Regions from separate parts of the Homo sapiens genome. Here region 2 is linked to region 1. The links are contacts of gene promoters, found by promoter capture Hi-C in blood cells and fetal thymus (Javierre and others, 2016). All regions are on one chromosome and are shown on one strand. Each heading gives the region's core, a stretch centred on a gene start or on the middle of the fragment in contact. The rest is flanking DNA. Distances are from core to core; before and after follow the strand shown.

Evidence for each region. Contacts are between HindIII fragments. The CHiCAGO score rates a contact against its expected background, and 5 or more counts as called.
Region 2: a fragment that was not itself captured here is called in contact with the fragment with the promoter of GNRHR in region 1 in 1 of 17 cell types (total B cells); the score reaches 6.0 in total B cells.

What each region holds. Positions count from the first base shown.
Region 1 is chr4:67,752,726-67,757,668 of GRCh38, forward strand. GNRHR (gonadotropin releasing hormone receptor) reads right to left here and starts at 1,663. Exons shown (of 3, transcript NM_000406.3): 1 at 1,089-1,663. The coding sequence starts at 1,610. The HindIII fragment of the contact is 5,914 bases long and covers 1,246-4,943 here.
Region 2 is chr4:67,509,085-67,514,532 of GRCh38, forward strand. CENPC (centromere protein C) reads right to left here. Exons shown (of 19, transcript NM_001812.4): 8 at 4,990-5,448; 9 at 3,318-3,485; 10 at 1-21. Among named protein-coding and RNA genes, the nearest start is that of CENPC, 34 kb to the right of the region's middle. The HindIII fragment of the contact is 2,888 bases long and covers 2,755-5,448 here.

The DNA of each region.
Region 1 (4,943 bases), core at 413-2,912:
TGAGAAATTGATGGGATAAAACAGTTATCCAGCTTTCTAGTGTCTTGTGCTATATAGTGAGTTCTGCATGGCAGTTTTTTTTTGTTGTTGTTGTTTTTTAACCATCTGGTCAGTAAAAAAAAGTCTAGATAAATTTCCATTTTCAGAGGCAAGTTTTGGAGGATCCTAGTTAATTCTGATTTATTTCTTGACACATCCTTGTATCCTGGGTTTATCATGTAGTACATTTAAATGCAAGAGAAAACTTGTTCATCTGCTATTAACATTCTTTGTTATTTTCAAGAATTTGTCCTTTTCTTCGGGGATCTGATTGTTAAAATGGCAGGTTCAGCAGGTCAGTTAACTAGGCTGCTTCTGGTGAAGGCAACCTGGAAAGATAATTGCCCTCTGTGGGGAGGGCCTGTGCCTACTCTGTCAGTCATATGGCTTTCTCAATAAGCTGCCTCCAGCAAAACTCAAGCTAACTTTAGGGAAATATTTGGATTTCCAAACATCCAAGATGTCTTACTTTTCTTCTATATTCAGTCCCACTTAGCTGCAAACTGCAGAGCAACATACTAACAAAGAATAATTCTCTCTAAGCTGCAGTGACAGAATTCTTAAAATTTCCACTGAAGAAACCCTAAATAAGAAACATTATAAATATTTTCTACCTAGGCAAATTTCATAATTCCTAAAAATTATCTCAACTAAACATTAAAGCCATGTCAACCAAAACAAAAAGAAAAACAGATAAAAGAATAGGATGGAGATAAGGTCAAGTTTGAGAATCGCATTTTTTTTGGGGAAGCATTTGCTACATAATAGAGATTATGTGAGCTACTTTATTTATTTATTCATCACAAAAGCAGTATTAAGTAAGCATTAACCCCCATGTTACATTTTATCGGTAAAGGAACTGAAACCAGAGAGGTTAAGAAGTTTGCCCAAGGTAACAGAACAGAGCCAGAATTAAACTTCACTCTCTGACTTCCAGAACCCAAGCTCTTAAAGGTAATACAGTACTTCCTTTGATAAGACCTTATATCAAATTTAGATAGGAAATCTATGATCACCATATCCAAATAAGTTTGTGTATAATGGCTTACCTGTGGTCCTGCAAAGACACTACTGAGGATCCAGGCCAGGCCAACCATGGACTGTCCGACTTTGCTGTTGCTTTTCAAAGCTAGGGGCCTCGTGATAGCCAGGGAGCGGTCCAGGCTGATCACCACCATCATGAAGGCTGGGGCATACATGGAGAAAAGCTTTAGATAACTGAGAACTTTGCAGAGTAACTCTCCAGCATACCATTGGACTGTAATGTTCCACATCCCATCCAGTGGCATGACAATCAGAGTCTCCAACAGGTTGGCTAAGGTCAGATGTTTTAAGAGCAGCTTCATTCTTGAGAGCTTTTTCCCTTTCTCTTTCTTCTGTGTCCACTTCTGAAGTTTCAACAAGAAAGAAGCATTAAAGGTCGCAGAGAGCAGAAAAAGGAAGAAAGTAACCGTCACTCGGATCTTTCCAGACAAGGTCAGAGTGGGGAGGTTGCCCTGCATCAGTGGGATGCTGTTGTTGATGGCTGAACAGTGATTTTGATTCTGTTCAGGAGAGGCACTGTTTGCCATATTTTCCCAGGACAGAGCTTCAAGCCTTGTGTCTCTGGTGCATCTGATATTTTATTGTAACCGAATCTAAAGTCCTGTTTTATTTCTGCCTTCTTTAGATGGAAACGTCACAGGTTTAGACGTATGTCAAATTTTGTCCCTGAGATACTTAATGTGAAAGATCAAGGTTAACTTGTTTTGTGTATTGGTAATCCAACAGAGTGCTAAAACAGAGCAGGCCAAATGCATTCTGAGGGCCACATGTAACTGTAGCACCTCAGCAGATGGTCTGGCTTTCACAACACTCTTCCTAAGTGAAGAAGGATAGTCACAGCCTAATTTTGAATTTAAAAGTCAGTCATGATATTATGATTTAAATAACTTTAAAAAATTTTTCTAAAAACTATTTAGTGTTAGTGTTCTGTCCAACATACAGATGTATAATGATAATGAAGAAAAATGAAAACAACTAGATCCAATTAAAATCCATTGTCTTAAGGAATTAACACATTTCTCAAAAACATTTCTTTGTTTTCCTTTTCAAACACACTGTTGAGCACTCGAACACTGGACAAATATATTCACTTAAAATTATTCTACAACAAATTAAAACTTTAAATTAGAATCAATCCAACTGACTGCATTCAAATTTATTAATCAATCTTACTGATCCAATCCATGCTTAAGTTAGAGTAAAACGGTTAATCAGTTTTTAAATTATTGCCTTGGTTTTTATAATTATCTAAATATTGTAGTTGCTGTTATTACACATTAATGCATAAGGAAACTAGTTATTGAAGAGAATACTGTGTAACTGCTGTAAGTGCATTTATATGTGTTTATGTTAGTATAATATGAATATGTTCTTTTATAGGTTATCTGATCATTTCAAATTGGGACCACTTAGGAACTTTTTCTGTGTTGTTTCTTTAACTTTCATGGTGAGTGCTGGATAGTTATTCATCAATACTGGTAAGACTTACATTGGAATTTATTAAATCACCAGCTTGATTTGTCTAATGCCAACAAGTTTGCTTCTGCAGCAGCCAAAGCAGGTACAATGTTAAGGATAAAAGTGGCTATTTTGACTTAGATGGTGCATTCTTATTGGTTCATTTATTATACTTGTTTATTCTGTCTTAAATATTTATTTATTTAATAAATAGTTACTAAATATTTACTATATACATTATCTTAGCCTTTGCTGGTGATAAAAAGTGAACACAACATCATCCAGCCCCTTTAAGGAGCTTGTTACCACAGAAGGTTAGATAAATGTTTTAGATATATCTTATGTATCTCCTCAGCTTCTCTGTGTACTGGCTGTCTCCTGAATCTTGAGCAGCTTAGACCAGTCCTGTACCTGAGCTCCTTTTTGACTGTCACTATATGTCCAGAATTACCAGCTTCTCTCACTACTTCCAGACTTGAAATATTTATATCCTCTATTTATATAGAGTATCAAGGAAAGAGATTTTCTCACACCTGAGATTTGTGACCATAAAATTTTTACCTACGTCAAAACTAAGTTCTGACTCATCTAGGAGAATTACAAAAAAAAAATTGTGCCTACTATATTAGCTATAATAAGTTCCTTATAAGCAATCAGTCTTGAATAAGATAATTTATTTTTCTGAAGAACTCAAAAGGCTTTGCATATACATCATGTCAGTTAATCTGATCAGGGCCATATGCCTGAAATGAACAAAACAGGATAACCATTGGAAAGACATACAAATATGAAAAGTGTTTGTAAGTGGACCAGCAACCAAAAAACAAAGGAAAGAACATTTATGTAAAAATCCAATTTTAGTGAAGTATATTTTGCTCTTTGTCTTCTATATCTAGGGGAAAAAGATTAGAGCATATCATTCATTATTTGTCCCTTTTCCTCCCATTCCTTCCCTTCCCCTTCCTTCCCTTCCCTTCCCTTCCCCTTCCCTTCCCCTTCCCTTCCCCTTCCTTCCCTTTTCCTCCTTTCATTCCTCTCTTCCTCCCTCCCTCCCTCCCTTTCTTTGTTAATGATGGACTGATTCATTAGGGAAGAGGTTGCAACCGAGCTGAATGGGACTACAGCATATAGCGTAATAAGTGGCTGGGGAATGGGGTATGAGGACAGGGAGGGCATGCTTAGAAGCTGGAGCAGCACATGCAAACACGAAGACAATGTGAGAAAGTTCAAAGGGTATGTGAAAGCAAAAGTGTAAATAATTAGGCAGACTTCAGATCTGGAGAGCCTATATTCCAAGAAAAGGAGTTTAGGCTTTACCTATATAAAGAATGGAGTAATATACTCCTTTCTTTATATATACTTAGTGTATTGTGTAGCATACAGAGAATGCCTTGAAGGGATTTGGGAAATAGTGGGCAATCAAAATTCAGGGAGGTTAATCTATTTGGAAAACCCTTGCTATCAACACAACATGAAAGGTATAAAGCCCTCAAGTGCAGGGTGTGGCTATGAAAGTCGGTAGAGGAAGTAGAGGGCGAATGATGTTTGACGCATTTGAGGAGCTCTAAGTTGTTGAATCTAAGTTGTTGGATGAGTCAACTATATAGATTTTGAAGGTGCTGTCAATACTGATAATATTACTCATAGTTAATATTTATTGGGTACTTACTTTGTGTCGAGCACTTTTCTAAGCATGTTACACGTATTAACACATTTAGACCTTACAACAACCCTAGAAGTCAGTACTATTATTTTCGTCTTATGGTTGAGGAAGGTGAAGCAGAGACATTTACATACCTGATCCATATTAGAGTTTGTCATGGGGGAGCGGTGGCTATCTAGGCCCGAGGTGCAGGGACAAAAGGGTTTACCGTTGTAGGTAAAAGAAAGGCAAATTTGTTAGAGAAGGGAGGAAAATACGTTGCCAGGGAGACAATGGGCAGGATCAGCGGAAGGGAAGCTGACTGCAAAGAAACAAAGGCTTGCTGGAGATTTTATAGGATAGTGTTTATGCTGTATGCTGAAGAGGGCTTTGTGCAGTACTGATAATGCCAAGGTTGCAGTGAGCTAACTTGCAGGTGTCTGGTGATAGTTGGGCATAGGAAGATTGAGAGTTATTTGCACAGGAGGGCTATGTGTCCTTGTAGCTTATCTGCTTTTTCTTTTTGCTTTCCCCTGCTCCCACCAGCCTGACTCCTTTTCCCTAATTAGGACACCACAGAATTGTGTTACATCTCATGCAGTCTGCCTTCAGAGCTCCTGTCTTTAACTACTATGCAATGCTACTTTCTGGTAGCAGTTGGGGTGGAAAGGTCTATGAGCCAGGTGCCATAGTCCTTAGTGAATGAAGGGCCGTGTTAACAGGCCCTTTTAGTTGCAGGAAAGGGAGACTGTTTTAGATA
Region 2 (5,448 bases), core at 2,949-5,448, 240 kb before region 1:
AAGAATTGCTATAAACAGGACCTGAAGGATTCAATGATAACCTAAAGTTAGTAAGTTTGTCCAGATGATTTGGCTCACTGAAATACCAACAGCATTTATATTTGCATATAAACATATACACATACACACACACACACACACACACACACACACACACACACACACACACACATCTCAGGCTAAATTTATTTCCAAATTAAATTCTTTAAACAATGTAGCTCTTCAGTTTATAGATATATGAAACAGGCCCTTCAAATCTGTCACAGGCTTCAAGAAACACTCTCTGGCTCTGCCCACTGCCCTTCTGGCCATCCTTAATATCTGATATTCCCCAAGGTGACAGCTTCAGCTTTTCACTCCATATACTTTCATTGACGGACTTATCTACCCAGAGCTTTAATTACTATCTATATGCTGACACCTATAATATCCATCTACTGCTCTCCCCTATATCTGCCTCTCTTGCTTTATTTCCTATCTTAATGAAAAATACAACTACCTATTCTATCCAGATATCTAAATCAGAAATTTGAGTCATGCAAGACTACTACTCCTATCCACAATCACGCCCTAAATCCCATCAATTCTACTTTATTAATGCCTTTCAAATCTTTCAAGCTCTCCCTCCTGTCATTAGTAGAAGTCCTCATTATTTCATATCTGGATTATTAAAACAGTCTCTTTACTAATCTCCCCCTCCCTAGCCTTGTTTTTCTTCAATCCATTCCCTACACTGCTGCAAGAATCACCTTTGGAAAACAAAAACTGGATCATTACAACTCTGCTTAATTAAAGTATTTTAGTTATTATCTATAGCTTCAGGATGAAGTCCAAATACTTCAACATCAATTCATATCTACATCTAGATTTGCTTATTTCATAAACCACAATTCCCAAAACCCCCCTCCAAACAAACAAACCAAAAAAAGCCATCAGTAATGAACAATCTACAGTTTCTCTAAAGCACTGGTTGTCCAAAGGCAGTCTCTAGACCAGCAAGATCAGCATTATCTGGGAATTTGAAATGTAAATTATCATGCCTCACCTCAGACCCCAGTGAATCAAAGACTTTGCAGAGCAGGGCCCAGTAACCTGTGCCTTAATAGGCCCCCCAGACAATTCTAAAGCACACTAAATTAAAGAAAGAAAAGATCAAGCTCTCTGCTCCAGATCTCTGCACAAGCTACTTCTACTTAAAACATTCCATAACTTCCTCCTTACTCCACTCAATCACTTAGCTAACTCCTAGTTCATCCTTCAGGAAGCTTTCCCTAATTTCCAAGTCTTAGGTAGCTTGCTATCACACATACGACTGTTTACTTATCTCTACTTCTCTCCTCCAGCAGACTAACAACTCCTTGACCTCAAGTAATTGATTGGTATTTTATCTATGTATATTCCCAATGCCTAATGACAGGGGCAGGACTATGGTGAAGCAAGAGTAGCCTCAGCTGGAAAATTCAAGAAGGTACTCATTTTCAGGTCTGTGCAAGTACAGAGCCCGAACTGATACAATCCTGTGACTGACTGCCTTAAATTTTTCACCCTAGTGTCTCATTGTCTTACCCTAGTCCTGGTCCTACTTTACCTCATTCCTGCCCCATGGCAAGTACTCCATATACATTTCTTCATATATATGGAAGGGCAACAGTGTCACACGTACGACAGGCAGGCTGGGGGCAGGTCAAGTTGTTCTTCTTAACTTCAGACTTCAGTTTCTTCTTCCATCAGATGAGAGTTTAGACTATATGATATATAAAGATTCCTCCACTTTTTCGACTCCCAGCTTGATCAAAAATCCAACATCTATTTCAGGACTCTTAAATAAGTGTTTTTTGATAGTTTCAGAGATCTAGCACATTTATCCAAGTTCTGTAAGAATTTATTTACCCATCTGTTTATGTATTCATCTGCCACATAGTACTTAGCATTTCAGGCAACCTGGGGCAGAAAAGTGAGTTCCCCAAAGCAGTAACAGTATTATTTAACACTTCAATACTAACATATGCCACCTACTATGCTAATTGCATTTAAACCTTATAAAAACTCAATGAGGTAATCATGTTACAGAATGAGAAACTAAACAAAGCAATCTACTCAAAGTGGAAGAGTGATACTTTGAACTCAGATCTCACTCCAAAATCCAAAGGCTGCAACAAAATAAATACTTGCTGCTATCCATCAAGAATCTCAATGATTTAATAATTCATAGCAATAAGGCCTCACATATACAATGCCATAGTTGTACTAATCATTCACTTATTAATCTAAATGCCCCAAAGTCAATAGTATTTGTGTATGTGAATGCTACCTTATGATCCACCAATCTTTTCAGGATCACTTTCTTTAAAAAGGGACAATTCTCCCAAAACAATAAATGTTTCATATTGTGCAGAAAAAAGTTAGCAAAGCAGGTCTGAGTATACTACCCTTAAAAGGGCCTGCTTTCAAAGTTAGCCCTGTAAACTTAAATTTCAGGATTGTTCCCGTCATTTCCTAATTGGCAAACGTGGTGTTGTGGGCCTAAACTGCTTATGCAAAAAATATGGTTTAGGCAAATATTGCCTTCCTTCAGGGAGTCTGGAATTGTAGTACTTGCTAGATAGAGAGTACCTATGTGACCACCCCCAGGAAAGATCTTGGGCACTAAGTCTCTAGTGAGCTTCCCTAATAGACATTTTGCCTATTTGTCACAACTCATTGCTAGAGGAATTAAGCAGCTCCTGTGGGAATCCACTGGGAAAGGACTCTTTAAGCTTCTGCTGATTTCCTCCAGACTTAACCCATGCACTTTTTTTCTACTGAATTTGCACTGCATCCTTTCACTGTAATGAATCACAGCCATGAGTACAACTATATGCCCAGTCCTCCTAGCAAATTACCAAATCTGAGGGTAGTCTTGGGAACCTCCAACACAAGTAATTTACTTTTTTATGTGTAATAAACTATAATCTTTTAGATTATAAACTCCTTGGTGGCAGAACCTCATATTATCAATCTTTGTATCCCTCACAGCCAGGACATTAAAATAGCTGGATTATTTATATTGCCTTTCCCAACTAGAATGCAAGCTCCATGAAAGCAGGGATTTCTGGTTTGGGGTTTTGTTTTCCCACAGCTATTATCCCTATTCCTAAAATACTGTATATATTAACGCTTCAAGGAATATCTTTACCATTGATTTAATATTCCTTTTGATGACCCAATTTAACTTGGTCCTCATGATATTCTCTATATAGAAATATAAAATCAAACATAATGCCCCTTACAGAATGATTTTGTCTATGAACAAACACAATTTAAATAAAAATACTTACTCTCCTCTGATTTTACCACCCACCAATCAGATGGACGCCTGGAAATTCTTCGACTTTTCGTGACAGTTGAAGTCACTTCTTCAGGTACAAGTTTGTTCTTGGACTCACTGGAAAAGCGCTTCTTTTTAGATTCTTCCTTATCTTTTCTAGTGCTACTTTTCTTGCTTCCTAAAATAAAGAAAACCATAAAACCAATTCACAATCTACTAAAAGAGTTTTCAGAAAACCACAAGATTATAAAAAAACCGTCAATTACAGGAACTTCTTAAATTTATCCTGTGGCCTTTTCATCTCCATTTTTAAAAGTCACATGTTCTCTTTCTGTCAATTATATGTGCTGCTGAAGTAAGCACTAACTTCCTATTAAATGCAAATTTTCACACTGCTTGATAACTCTTATATACTCCTCAGCCAAAAAAATAAGTATCTTCTGAAACTGAAAAAAAAATACAGTTCCTTCCTATAACGTCCTAAGTAAAAGTAGGCAATTACTGCTTTCCTGTTTTGAAATAATGATTTTTTTCAACTTAAGAAGAGGAGATTTAAAGTGTGATTAAATTATAAACTCTGAAATAGAGGCATTATCTTGGATCATCCAGGTTGACCCAATCTAATTATGTTTCTTTTAAAAGCTGTGGTCAGAGAGATGAGATGATGGAAGAAGAGGCAAGATAAATTCACAACATGAGAAGGCTGGTATTGCTAGTTTTGCAGATGGTGGAGGAGGACCATGAGTCAAGGAATATAGGTAGTTTCAAGAGGGTGGAAAAGGCAAAGAAACAGACTTCCTCCCAGAGCTACCAGAAAGAAAGAAAACCCCACCAATACCTTGATTTTATCCCAGTGAGACATCTGACCCACAGAACTGTAAGATAATCAATGTTTGTTGTTTTAAGCCAATAAGTGTGTAGTAACTTGTCATATGACAGCAATAGAAAATTAATACAACTGATATGGTAATTAATGAGCATTATATTCACTAACCAATCTAGATACAGAATATATGTAAAAATTAGTGTGTAGAATATAGCAGGTACTCAGAAAATGTTTAATATTTACAATTATAGAGCGCATCTTTCAAGTATACTTCCTTCATATGTCTTTTCCTAAGAAATTATGGATAAATCAAAATTTTGTATCCTTCCTTTTAATCCTATGCATGTATGTATATTATCTATTATTCTACAGAACCCACCAGAATGATCTTGTTAACAGTAGAAATAATGGGTTAGTAATTTTTGTGATTACAGTGCCTAATGCAGTGTATGGCATTCAACAACTGTTAGACACATGAGTGAATGATGGAAGAGAATGGACTTTTATCTCTATAAAAAATAGTCCCACGGTACCCTGGGATTTTTTTTAACATTTTTATTTTCTAAATAATTTATCATTCTGTCTTATTCATCTTCCGATACTAACTTGTTTACTAGCCTTTTCTTTTCACTTTGCCCTCTATATATACTGCCATCTCACAAGATAAACAAAAACTATATGAGTTAGAATTAAATTATATATAAAATAAAAAGGTTCTAGAAAAGAACCTATAGGCTTTTCAGGCTCTTTGTTCATTTAGGTTTACTTTGCCTACTTGCCAAAGCTAAGTTAGGATATTAAAAAACATAAAATGGGTAGAATAATGCTCATGGTTATATTTAATATAAACACTTACCCACAGGTGGCATCTGTTTTTTGGAAACACAATCATTTCCCATCTCTTCATGCTCTTCCATATTTCTGTCTGAATTTCTTTGAAATTCGTCTTGGGTAATATGTGATGTATGTATGTTTTCATCTTTAGACTGTCCCACATCAAGCTGTTCTTCAGCTGGTTTAGCCATGAATTTTCTTCTCTGTTTTTGTTTTATAGTCCTTTTGCTTCTAGATGGTTTTTCTGCATTCTTGGAATACATTTCATATTTTGTAGATCTATAATTATTTACTGTTTCACCTATCAAAGCATAACTTGTATCCAGTACTGTTTTATCAGAGGGCTGAGATGTCTCTACTGGGTGAGGTTTATGGGAATGTTTGTCATTTGCCAAAGTCTTAGGTAATATATTATGATGCTTTTCTCTTGACTTTCTACCTTGAAGGAGTGCAGTGCTCTCAGCCGGGGATATTGTGCGTT